Regions from separate parts of the Homo sapiens genome. Here regions 2 and 3 are each linked to region 1. The links are contacts of gene promoters, found by promoter capture Hi-C in human tissues and cell types (Jung and others, 2019). All regions are on one chromosome and are shown on one strand. The core of a region is centred on a gene start or on the middle of the fragment in contact, and the rest is flanking DNA. Distances in the headings are between cores, read along the strand shown. Region 1 holds the start of EPHA7 (EPH receptor A7). Region 2 overlaps EPHA7 (EPH receptor A7). Region 3 overlaps EPHA7 (EPH receptor A7).

What was found. The method cuts DNA at HindIII sites, captures the fragments that hold promoters and counts their contacts. A contact is called where the count stands out against the background at its distance.
Region 2: a fragment that was not itself captured here is called in contact with the fragment with the promoter of EPHA7 in region 1 in 2 of the 25 tissues and cell types used here (dorsolateral prefrontal cortex and mesenchymal stem cells).
Region 3: a fragment that was not itself captured here is called in contact with the fragment with the promoter of EPHA7 in region 1 in 2 of the 25 tissues and cell types used here (heart left ventricle and hippocampus).

Annotation. Positions count from the first base shown.
Region 1 is chr6:93,417,341-93,421,664 of GRCh38, reverse strand. EPHA7 (EPH receptor A7) reads left to right here and starts at 2,106. Exons shown (of 17, transcript NM_004440.4): 1 at 2,106-2,420. The coding sequence starts at 2,324. RefSeq lists a silencer at 1,859-2,058. The HindIII fragment of the contact is 11,378 bases long and covers 150-4,324 here.
Region 2 is chr6:93,305,123-93,309,446 of GRCh38, reverse strand. All of the region lies in intron 5 of EPHA7 (EPH receptor A7), which reads left to right. Among named protein-coding and RNA genes, the nearest start is that of EPHA7, 110 kb to the left of the region's middle. The HindIII fragment of the contact is 6,151 bases long and covers 1-4,324 here.
Region 3 is chr6:93,347,594-93,351,917 of GRCh38, reverse strand. The region is part of intron 5 of EPHA7 (EPH receptor A7); the gene reads left to right. Among named protein-coding and RNA genes, the nearest start is that of EPHA7, 70 kb to the left of the region's middle. The HindIII fragment of the contact is 4,485 bases long and covers 1-4,063 here.

The DNA.
Region 1 (4,324 bases), core at 857-3,356:
CAAAAAGAGGACTCACTATACCACCTACACTCATCAGAGGAGTGAAGGATGTTACTTCTTTGGTTTCCTGGTTTTAATGGAAAAGTATTTGTATTCACATCATTGAGTATTAGTCATTCAATAGATGAAAGGAATATTTTAAACTTTAAAGGCCACCTTGGTGTCATTTTAAGAAGTGGGGATGAGACCCTGGGGAAAGTGTTGAAATCCTGGAGAATTCGTTTTAACTATTAGAAGTGGTTTAATATTTGTAAGTTTGTAGTTCTGTGAGTTCTAAAGACTAAGTGCAGGGATTTATGTTTTTAACTCTTATGTTTTAGTTTACAAGTTTCATCCTTAAATCATCTATTTGTGTAAATAAAGCTTCATCTCCTCTATAACAAGTGTGTTCTCCCCATATTTTTTTTTGTCTCTTTCTAAGGTTAATCTATTACGCATTTACATTTTCTATGCATCCTTTAAGGGACACTGAAGATGCTTTTTGATACACTTTCTAAAATATTAAATAGGCATAATGGCTAGGAATATGTAACATTGAAGAAATGTTTCAGAAACTACAGAATCAAAGAGGTTTAAAGAATAAATTTCATATCTCTCTTCCATGTTATTTTATTAGGCAAATAAAAACTACAGGAGACAATTTAACATAAAATACAAATAAATATCTGGGGGTTGTCATCTTAGAGAACTCCCTACTATAAAAAGCAGAAACAACTCAATTTACTTTATATTTCCAGATAGAAAGGTTGGAAAAAGTTTGGAGCCTTATGTGAGATCAAACTTTGGATCTATCGGAAATAAAAGGAAATCATAAATGACTGAGAAATATTTTTAAAGGAAGAAATTATAGGACAAAAAAAGAAATTCATCTTAAACATGTGATCAAGTTACTCTGTGTGACCTTTGAAATTGAAGATTTGGCAATTAAAATTTTAAAGTTCTTCCTCTTATTACCTACCTCTTGAATACAAAGTGTCCGAAACTGCCTAATGGAAAACAGATTTCTCTACGCAGCCTTCCTTGCCGTTCGGGTTGAATGAATTCAACTGGAGATATTGGTTATGACTTTTTTTATTCTTAGTTTCTCTTTGAAAGATAAGCATTGAATAATTCCTGAAAATGGTAAATACTTGCGAAGAGAAAGGTCTTGCTTTATGAATTTAATACGTAGTGGCATTCTTTAAAATTCAGTGTAATTTATGCAGCGAAATGGAAAACTATCAAAGTGGAGGCAATCCAAGGAAAACCTTAGAAAATGATAAACGCGTAAAAAAACGATACGCAACCATCAGAAGGTTCTCTCCTAATGTCTCACTTCGCTCAACAAACTATGGTGAAAAGACAGGGCGGAGGAGAAGGGGCGCTTAAAACAAAAGACTTCCTTTCCCACTCCCTTTTCCTCTGTTTCTTTTGCCAGAGCTTGTTGCAAACTCTTGGAAACATTGTTTAAACATAATACACTTGGTTACTTTATTCTTTCAGGGATTGTGGTGGGTGGTACCTAAAACTGACGGCTCTTGGAGTAACAGAAAAAGAGAAGTAGAAACTTTTCAAAAAGGCAAAAAACAAAGTTACCCAGCCCGCGGAGGTTCTAACAACAAAAAAGTAAAACACACTTTACTTAAAGGCACAGCTCATTTCACTGTCCGGGCTCCGTGCTTGGTAGCTGAGAGAAGGCTTGCTTCGCCTCTGGTTTCTAAAAGATCGCGCGGAGTACAGCTATAGAAAAGAGTGTAAGTTGGGAGCGTTATTCTCGGATTTATTCTGCTACGCGAAAGCTGCGGTTGCTAAAAGCAGAGCGTCCAAAGCAGCACACACCTCGGCTACCATCCTCGTTCTCCTCTGAACATCCAGCGCGAGCTCAGAACCTGGAGGGAATCCTGGACCAGCAACCTGACTCCGCTCGGCACCGATTGGCTCCTGCCTCGGACCCCGCCCCCGTGGCCGGGGCGGCCATTTCGCCGGGACCCGCCCCTTGGCCCTGGGAATCGCCTCCTGGCAGGCCGGCTGTGCCTGCCACTCAGCCCGAGTGGCGGAGGCTCTCAGCTCGGAGCCCCGCCCCCTCCCCCCCTAATTGATATTATTGGAGTGTGGAGCAAGCGGCCGGTCTGCAGTCGGAGACTTGCAGGCAGCAAACACGGTGCGAGCGAACAGGAGTGGGGGGGAAATTAAAAAAAGCTAAACGTGGAGCAGCCGATCGGGGACCGAGAAGGGGAATCGATGCAAGGAGCACAATAAAACAAAAGCTACTTCGGAACAAACAGCATTTAAAAATCCACGACTCAAGATAACTGAAACCTAAAATAAAACCTGCTCATGCACCATGGTTTTTCAAACTCGGTACCCTTCATGGATTATTTTATGCTACATCTGGCTGCTCCGCTTTGCACACACAGGGGAGGCGCAGGCTGCGAAGGAAGGTAAGGTGATGGGAAAGCAAAGTTTGTTCTGACTTATTTATTTAGATGTCTACCTGCACAAGCCAGCTCGTCCGCGGCGCTGCCGGCCGCGCCTCCGGCGCCGGGCGACCCTCCCCCGCCGGCTCCCCGCCCCCTCACCGCTGAGGCCGCTCCTGGCGGACCAGCGAGCGCGAACCAGGGCTGTTCCGAGCCGCCTACAGCCCTGTGCCCGGAGCCGTCCATCCGACGGGTGCGGGATTTCTGGCGCGGGCAGTCTGGAGGGCGTGAGCAGCAACGGGGGTGGGGTGGGGTTGGAGGAACTGCCGGCGAGCTTATTTCTTAGTACCTCAGGCGGGTCACATCTCTCTCTAGCTCGGTCTTCCTTGTCTCCTTATTCGCCTTCTGTGGGAGCTGCGGCCAGAGTTGGGTTGGAGACTGGGAAATGCAGCCCCTACCGTCTCCGCCAGCCCGCCGGCGAGTGGCGGGAGCCCGGAGCCTTCCCAGAGGGACCGAGACTTCGATGAGCTCGGAAAGCTCGGGTTACTAATGAAGTGCTCACTGCGTCGGAGGCGGCGGCGCGGTCCTGCGGTTGGCGCTCGGCCGCCAGCACGGAACAATAACGCCGCGGAGGTGAAGCGCGGCGTGCGGCGCGCGACCCGAGGGCCGGGGATGTCTCCATTCAGCGCGCGCTGCGCGTCGGGCCCAGCGGTCATGGGGGCAGCGGCAGCCCAGCGGGCTTGGTCGGGCCGTGGAGGCAGGGGGCGGGCTGGAGCTGTGCAATTTGTAAGGATGCCGCCTGGGCGACTCAAAGTCCCCAATTATTTGCCCCATAGTGCAGCAATTGAGGAATCCGAGTGCCCAATCCTTGCCAAAGACCTGAACCCTGAGGGTTGGTTCTGGTAGGAGAAGGCAGGTTTTATTTGGCAAGCTGTTACAGATACGCCTGTATATGGTTATGTTTTCCTTCTTTGAACCTTTGACAGAAGGTAAAATACCTTTCGGTGCCTGTAGTTGGAGCTGGGGAAAAATAAACCCTGTCAATGGAAGTCTCTTGCTTTTGAGCAGTGTCACAATCCCATCCCCAACCCCCCTCATCCCGTCGCCCCCCTGGTCTTTCAGGCTGTGTATCTAAGTTTCATTTTTCGATCTGTTAAAAGCAGAAGAGAAATAATTACTTATTCCTGATGTGTAGAGGGAGAGGAATCTGTTATGAAATTTAGGTCATGGTGGTTATCGGGCGGGGTGTTGAGGGGACTTACATATAGGTCCTTGATTCATCTATTTCTGAAAACTTAGTGCACCTTTTCTTTATTCTCATCGTGCACTCCTCTTAGTTCGCTCAAGCCCCCCTCAAACCCGGCGCCAAATTCTAGTCCTTCTTTCAGCCTGACCTTCTGACCCCACTTTCCACATCTGCAACCTGTATAGATGCTGAACCCATTCAGAGAACCCCGTGCCTCCAAGCTGGCGGTTACGCGTTTGCAGAAGGACGGACATCTGCTAGAAACGCACGCTCATCCCCTCCAAAACCACATTTCTACTCCCCTGACGTTAGCGATCAGAAACCTTCAGCCCTGGCATACTGTGATTCCTCTGGAATAGCGGACCAGAGGAAAAGTTTGCACCGCCGCGGCGAAACCCCGCGCGCGAACACACGCAGACTCGGGCTGGAGTTTGGGCTATAAATAACTGCATCACTAGGGGGAGAGGTTCCTGCAGCCAGAATGTCTAGTTCTCTTTGCTCTTCTGGGTGCAAGCTACGTGAAGAGGATTCTGATTCTAAGAGCCTGAATTCTTTAGATGCAGAAGTGTGATGTATAAAAGGCGCGGGGGTGATGGGAGGGAGGGTGGTGATCTGTGGCTGGCGGGCGGCGAGTGCGCCCGGCTTCTAGGCGGCGACGCCTCTAGGGCGCAGCGGCGACCAA
Region 2 (4,324 bases), core at 745-3,244, 110 kb after region 1:
ATTGTGCCCAAAAATATTTTAGAACTTGGATGACTACAATAATTTCTTCATATCAGCATTTCATATGGTAAAATATATGTATAGAACATTTTGAAAGTAGCCTTCATAACATGAAGAATTTCAGAAATAAAGTCTTATTTATATGCTGCTTTTAAAAGAAAAGACATCTCTGAAATGTATTTGTTAAAAGATGTTTGAGGCTGGGTGCGGTGGCTCACGCCTGCAATCCCAGCCCTTTGGGAGGCTAAGGCGGGCAGATCACCTGAAGTCAGGAGTTTGAGACCAGCCCCACAAACATGGTGAAACCCTGTCTCTACTAAATACAAAACAAATAGCTGGGCATGGTGACACATGCCTGTAATCCCAGCTACTCAGGAGGCTGAGGAAGGAGAATCACTTGAACCCGGGAGGTGGAGGTTGCAGTGAGCGGAGATCATGCCATTGCACTCCAGCCTGGGCGACAGAGCAAGACTCTGTAGTTTAAAAAAAAAAAAAAAGTTTGAATTATTTGTAAGTAATTGTCAAACTAGTTGGGGCTTTTAAAATCTACACATAGGTAGTCAGCTAGCTATCTTAACTATATAGCTTAACACCTATGTGCAGAGGTTAGAGCCCTAATCTAAAAGCCATTAGGAATGATGCCTTTAAAAATGTGGTATTTATATAGGACTGGGAAATGTTGAACCTACATTTCTCTGCTGTGGATTCACTTAGTATGTTAGTATATTCCTAACTAGCTATTAACTCTTAACTATATAGTTGAATACCTATGTGTAGATTTTAAAAGTCCCAACTAGTTTGACAATTATTTATAAATAATTCAAACATCTTTTAACAAATAAATTTCAAATATATCTTTTCTTTGAAAATAAACACGTAAGTAAGATGTTGTTTCCTTTCTGTGTACATCTCAGAAAGGGATATACTAACATATTAAGTGAATCTTACAGCAGAGAAATTTAGGTCCAACATTTCCCAGTCCTACATACACACCACATGTTTAAAGATATCATTCCTAATGGCTTTTAGATCAAACTCTAAAAAAAGTAAATAAATAAAGTAGTGCTTCTAATTGTAACAGCAAAAAATAATAAGATATATTTTCCTTTGGTATAATGTAATCTATTCTACAGTAGCCAGAGCAGGTGTTGAAAAGCCTGTGTACTCCAATCATCAAACCACAGAGAAAAAATCCTAGTATCCCGAGCAAGAGGGGATGCTGACAGTTAGAGCCTGAGACAGTTTGAATTATCATGTAAGCATGTCACTCGAGTGATTAAACCTCAAAAGATTAAAAATGGTCAGCATCTCATGAGATACAAAGAATATGCTTTCTGTTTGGACAGTGCCAGTTTTCGGTGACTGATTATTGTTAGCTTTTTCTGCACACTAGCATTTCTCCCAGCCTACACCCTGCACCAAGAGCACAGCAACTCAGGATCATATTCTCTCTTTATTCTGATAGTGATGACATCTGAACAAAAGTGCACAAATCCATATTCATCGGGAAAAAGTCTTGATATTTGAGAACTAAGTAGATATTGTTTACTACTTTCACTATTTTTGAGTAACCATAGAAGTTACTCTCATTATTACTAAATCTTCCTGGTTTCTCCCAAGCTCAACGTATGGATGAGTAGTAGTACTATCCTCAAAATGAAGAGGACAGTACATGTTTATCCACTCATTAGGGAATTAAAACATAAGCATAATGATTGGTCTGTATGAATATGTAATATATGTGCATACATATCTTACCATATTTATTTTTTCCACTGTCTACTAACTACTTAATCTGAATGTCATAAGATTTAATCTGTATTAGTCAGCCTAAGGGGAGTGCAAATAAACTTGGCTCAGAATTGCATGCTTTACAGTGTAAAACTTAGAAATTATTTTTTAGTTTTCATTGAATAGATTCAATCCTTAGAATCTGTCTATTTTGGGAAGAAAAAAGTGGGATTACATCCTTCTTTTTATTTTCCACAATACCTATTCTTTAAAGGATTGTGGAAATGGTTTAGCCCAGAGTAAGCTAGAAATCACTGCATAGGGCTTATTCAATGTGTTATCAGTGTCAGAACAACTTTTACCTAAATACATTCAAAGCTTTCTTATCTTTCATTTATTTCTGTTAAATGATGTGGACAGTGTCTTTTAACTAGAATTTTGTATTTATGTTTGCTATCATGGTGAATTTTTTTTTCTTTTTGGTACCACATATTGTCACATTGGTTGATTTTCTAAAAAAATACAGAATATCTAACATTTGGTTGATGCAATAATTGGTATCATTATTTAAATATTCTTTATAAAGAGATGCAGTTTAGATGGGTTTGATAATTTATAGACTGAATTTATTTTTATTAGCAGTTATGTTTAAGTCCTGTATTCAAATATTATAATTATACTTCTTTTATGCAATAGTATTATATTATGATTTAATGGAGATATGAGCAATTCTAAATGTGTCAATCCCCTATGATATTTTCTGTTAAAATTAATTATAATTGCTACTAAAATGTAGAATTTATTTGATCCATCTTCATAAAGAGAGTTTTTTTCTCCTTCTAGAGGGAATTGATTTATTTCACATGATGACCAAAACTAAGCATTCTTACAATAGGTCATAATTCGGTTCAAATTGTAGCATAGTGAAAATAAAACTGAGGGATGATTGTCTAATGCTTTGGAAAGTTAATTTGATTATTTTTATAGGAGATGTATTATTTACACATTTCATGATAAATATTGATTTGAACTGCACATGGGATTTAGTTTAGAAATCAGGAAAAGTGAAAGCAACTGACTTAAACTGAACATTTTATTAAACATTGGAATTTGTTTTACATTAAAATGTATATTTAGTTCAGTATAACATAGTTTACATGAAATATGACCTAGCTTTATTTAGGTCTTTGTTTTACTCTGAGTCCTTTGGTTTTGTCATTTTTAAGTCCATCATACTGTGCCATGCACACACATTTGTGGGATTGGCTAGTTCAAAAGAAATTATTTGCTTTAATTAATCCATTTGGATATTTAAGAAATATATTCCTAAAACTTTTTAGTACTTTGTGCAAACATGATTCTTGGCAAATTCCCTGAGGACATTTTTTTATATTTTCACCCCAACAGAAGCTAACATTATTGTACCCTTATCATATTAAGTGAGATAAAATGTAAACTTCTCAATACATTCTCTGGCCTATCAGCAAAATAAAAAGTCATTCAACTGGGATTTCGGGAGACTTTATAAAAGCAGAGAAAAATTGTAGGCCACTTACAAAATTCTGCAGTCAAATTATATTTTAAAAAATCCATCTAGAGTTAGAGACATGTTTGGACTAATTTAGTTCAAGTAAGTATGATTCTTGCATAAATAGTGATTTTCACACTGCCCTTTTTTATGTAAAAATATTAACAAGTATTTCTGCTTTTTAGACCAAAATAAATTATATTCCGATATTTTATTATGATATCCATTGTATAGACTGATTTATTTTAAAGCCAGGAGTTTCTAGGTAAGTACTGAATATCTCTTAATGAGAATAATAGTGACTATATAAAATACTATTATATCTGTGTGACCATGCAGGTTATATGACAACAAAGAAGAAACTTAAATTTTTTTTATTTTCTTCTGACAGATAAGTTTGCAAAGGTGGCTCTAGTAGAGGTATTGACAGTAGCAAACAAAAAAATCTATTCCCGTAGGTAATGAAATAAATTAATTACTTATGGTTTTCATTTACTAGGTAGTTTAGTCTGTATTATTTTCACAGTAACCTCAATATGTCTAGTAAGTCTAAATAAACATTAAATTTTATTGAAGAATGAAAAAGAAAGCCACACTCAGAGTCACTAGTTGTTGGTAAATACATACTTTAATTGTATGTATTTTGCTTCTTTGGTTACCAGGAAATATTTCTTTCTCACACAGGCTCTTTAGGTTGGAATTGCCTGAGTGGCTTTTAATGTTTATAGAGGAAATGTAGGAGGAATGATTTCTTTTAAAAAATGATTTATAACCCCTATAGGGATTCATAATATTATTAAGAAATTTTAATTCACTGAATTCTGGATAGCAGAACTGCTTCAGCCTCTTACTTTTTTTTTTTGGACTTTTACTTTCATAATTTCTCCTTTCACTAATACCATCTTTTACTTTTATTTTGGTCTTTTACTGTTCACCCTGCTTAATCAAATCTTTCCCCATCCTATAAGGTCTAACTCATGCTTTCCTTCCATGAACACTTTCAGTTGTGCATTGATTCTACATACATATATTTTGTACCAGGAAGTAATAGGGAAGCTATAGAAA
Region 3 (4,324 bases), core at 572-3,071, 69 kb after region 1:
TTTGACTCGTCATATTGTAAAAATTGAGCAAATAGCTTAATTCCAGGTACATTTATTAGAATAAAAAGGTGTGTTACTGTCCTGAAACAATTATAAGAGCAGTAATTAAAATATTACTATTTATTGAACACTTACTATGTTCCTGGTACTTTTTGAAATGTAAAATGTGCATGAAAAGAGTGTCAAAGTTGAGTCACCTTTTTTGGCCTCATATTTTCCCCATAGGCAACGGAGAGATTTGGGACATAAGACCTCTCAGACCTCCACATATATTTATAACTAAATAAATAAAGTAGTAACTCAGTATAGAGTACAAACGTATCACTATGCTACACTATTCACTGTACACTATTAATAGGTGAGTGATACTGTACATATACTACAGTTCTTAATGAGAGTGATAACTATTTTAACGCTCTGGAAAGCATCTGGAAGGAATTAGGATGAAAACTGAAACCTCTTGAAAGAGGTTAGGGATAGTTTCTCAAGTTGGGCTCCCCAGGAAGCAAATACTTATATGGAGATTAGCGTGCATGAGTTTTATTAGGAAGAATGTTTGGGATCAACACCATCAGAGAGAAGGGAAGCAAGCAGGACCAAGCAGAGCAGGGCTGAGCTGTGATGGGGTCTCATTGGAATCATCAGCCAACTCCATGGGGAGTGCTCTACCTGTAATGAACCCTCAGGTTGTCCCTAGGTGACAGTTTTATACGTCTATGTTGTCCAGACATGGGTTGCAGTTTTTCCTAGGAGTGAGCAAGGTGTTACTTTTCAGAAAGGAAATTCTAAATGAGGCAGGGAACTGAGGCCTGTTTTCTGGCAAATATCTCGGCAGCTGGGCAAATAATTTCTTCAGTGCTTTTCTAAGGAGAATGTGGGCAGCCCATTACAATATCCATTATAGAGGGTTAAATTATGCAAAAGAATAAGAGTGGCAGCATTCAGAGTGTGATTATGGAATAATGGTATGAACTGGATGAATAAAGATTTGTGGGAAAGATTACTGGGGAATTTTTATTTTTAGGAAAAGAATCTTTTCTGATAGACAGCGGGGAAACCGGAGTGTTTTTGAACAGGAAAGTAACAGATTGACCCTGGTTTAACTTAAACTTTTGTGTATCTTCCGCAGTACATTTCACATATTACATATAGTCGTTTGTTAAAAAAAAAAATTCCTGCCTAGTGTTACTGTGGAAAAAATGTGCAAAACATACAGTTTCTGAAAATATAAGAAAGCTTCAAAGAATCTGCCATCAGGGTGTGGAGACATCTCAACTATCTTCAAAGGTCTCTTTAGAGTCTCTCAAAAAGAATTATGTTTTATCCCCATCATCAATTTTGTTGTGTATGGATGAATGATCTATATGACACTCACTCAGATTATATTAAAATTTGAACTAAATTTGTGGAGTTGTTAAGACAAGAACTGATATCATTTTAAAAGTAAAATTTTGAGGGTTCGAATGACTTTACAAAGGTCACACGGTAAATTATATAGTGATGACCCAAATGATTGCAATCAAATACACTTCTTACCTCAAAATTATTGTTTATGCAATCTTACCATAGAGTGCTATCTTTAAAAATGTAGCTCCATAATCCATTACACGAGAAATTGCAGATTGGTTTAATGGTCAGTGATAAGAGCTGTTAAGTGAAAAGGAGACCTACTAAGAAGTGTTATTTCCTGAGAATATTAACAAATGTAATCTTTGTGGGATAGCATTGCTAAATATAGCATTTGCCTTCTCATTACTGTTTTATTATCTTTCTTCAAGAAACTTTAAAAATAGCCTTGCATATTTTAAACTGACCGACTTTCCTGTGTTTTTCAATGCCCAGATCTAATTTCTCAGCCAAAATAAAGGTTTGCGTCAGTATTCCCTTTACTTTGATTTGTAATGTTTATATAATGTACCAGATGAAATATAACCTGAGTCATGTGATATAACATTATACATAAGCAAAATTATCCCCAAAAAAGACAAAACCAACAATCATTTTCTTTATTTGTCAGAAGTAGCTTCACTCACATGAATTAATGTGACTCAACTGTGACTGTTTTCTCATAAATTAACGTAGATCGTCTCTTTTCAATGATTTAATGGACACACATCAAGTTATATGTCTTTTAATAAGTAAATTAATTCCATTTAAATTTGTATATTTTTATACTTGTTAGGAATATATAAGATTGATTTATATTTTAAAGGAACATGATATTGAGAAAATATATTTTCTTATTTTAGAACATTTATTGGTTATATAAAGTAATATTAAACACAGCATTCTCCACAGGGTGAAACAAGGCATAATTGTTTTATCACTAGGTTAAAAATATATAAATGCAAAAAACAGGAACCATTTTGTAGAGATAGTGTTATTGTTATTAAAACATACATTCATATGTACACCTATGCCGTCTGCAGCAGAGAATCAATCGAATAAATTTCCTTTAACAGTAAACTGTTCAAAATATGCATTTCTGTTACATTTAGACATTTTATAAACCTGAGGTATCCGAAAGTGCAGGATTTAGTCATTCTAATTCATGCCCTGCAGGGCATGACATTTTAGTAATTCATATGCTTTGCTTAAACAAGGAGTAACTTTAGACTGTTAGTGAAATTTATTTAAGTATTTTTGTGACACCATAAATATGAAAACATATATATATAGATACATTTACATTTTTATTTAGTGGCTGTAAGTTATTAAAACATACAAAAAGGATGATATTTTAGATAACTATTTTAATAAAATTTTAATTAGGTAACATACTACCATGTTGACATTAATACTAATAACCAGGATTTATGTAGTGCTTAGTATAAAACATGTTGATTCCTTTACACGTAAAGGCCCATATGTTTGCACAGTATCTTCACATTCCGAATTTATCATGTAAGTTTAAGAGAAAATTACATGTTTCTGTGATATGGTCTTATACTAAGTGTATCATATATTTGTAATATTCTTCACATATTAGTTGTGAAAAGTTTATCTTTCCTCTTAGGCTTCATTAGGGGAAAATGGCGGTACCTTTGATCATACTCTCTAGCCCCATCAACATATTGGGCCCAGGGTAGATGGTTAGTAAATATTTGTTGGCTGAGTACATAAATTCTTTGTATACTGTAATATGCAAAGAAAATTTCTTAGACTATCTAGGTTGTTACAGAAGACATTAATTTAATTCAAATGATATAATGTTATTTAAATTATGCAATGAGTACATAAGTTAATAATTTCAAGTATAGTCATTTTGCAATTTGGTCCTAAAACTGTAAATATATTTAAAATCTTAAACTGTTTACAGCCATAATGTGGTATTTACACAGGAATTTTAAACAAAAGCTTAACCTTCTTATAAAATATTAAAGGTACAAATAAACCTTAACTTTGAAAACTTTCGTAATGCTTCATATTTTGAAAGCTTGTTGAAAATATAATTAATTTATATCTTTTATATAACATTGAATATGTAGAAGCACAGAGATCAGGATTGGAGATGCTTTCTTTAGTACCTAGGAACATAATATCAGCTTTTCATACATTATTTTAATATTTTTTATAGTTTGGTATATTTAGGTTTTAATATTTTTGTATTTTTTTTGGTTTGGTGACAGCTTTAAGGCTACAGCACATCACTGTGCCATGACTCTTCTCAATTAAAACATACATAAGGAAATACCTCTAAGTAACCTGTGTTCTCATCCCCACACCCTAATCTTGCCACCTCAACTCCCTGATCTCCAGTCCCAGTATCTTTCTGAGTTGTCAAAACTATCCTTTTCTGATATGGTTAATATTTGTAATGAAATAGGCTTATGTTGAGGTTATGGTGACAAGTTGATCTGCATACTGTTTAATGGACATGCTCTTAGTAGACTCTTGAAAAAATCCTAGTATAGAGTGTTTTAAGTTGCGTCTCATATTTCCAATTTAATGCTTCTTTATCTTTTCTTAAATTATTTGATCTTTGAATTGCTACTTTGTAAATAATGATGTTTACATACTTGGGAAACAAGAGTTCATTTTTTGCAATAACCCAGTTATTCTACTGCTGTGATGGAATTGTGTCCCCTCAAAATTCCTATGCTGAAGCCCTAACCCCCAATGTAACTGTATACTTTCCTCCACACACACTGAGAAAGGCCATGTGAGCACATAGCAAGAAGATGGCCATCCCCAAGCCAGAAAGAGAGGCTTCAGCAGAAACTGAAATCTGTTGGACCTTGACTTGGGACTTCTAGCCCTCAGAACTGTGAGAAAACAAATTTCAATTTAAGCCCCTCAGTCTGTGGTATTTTCTTATAGCAAC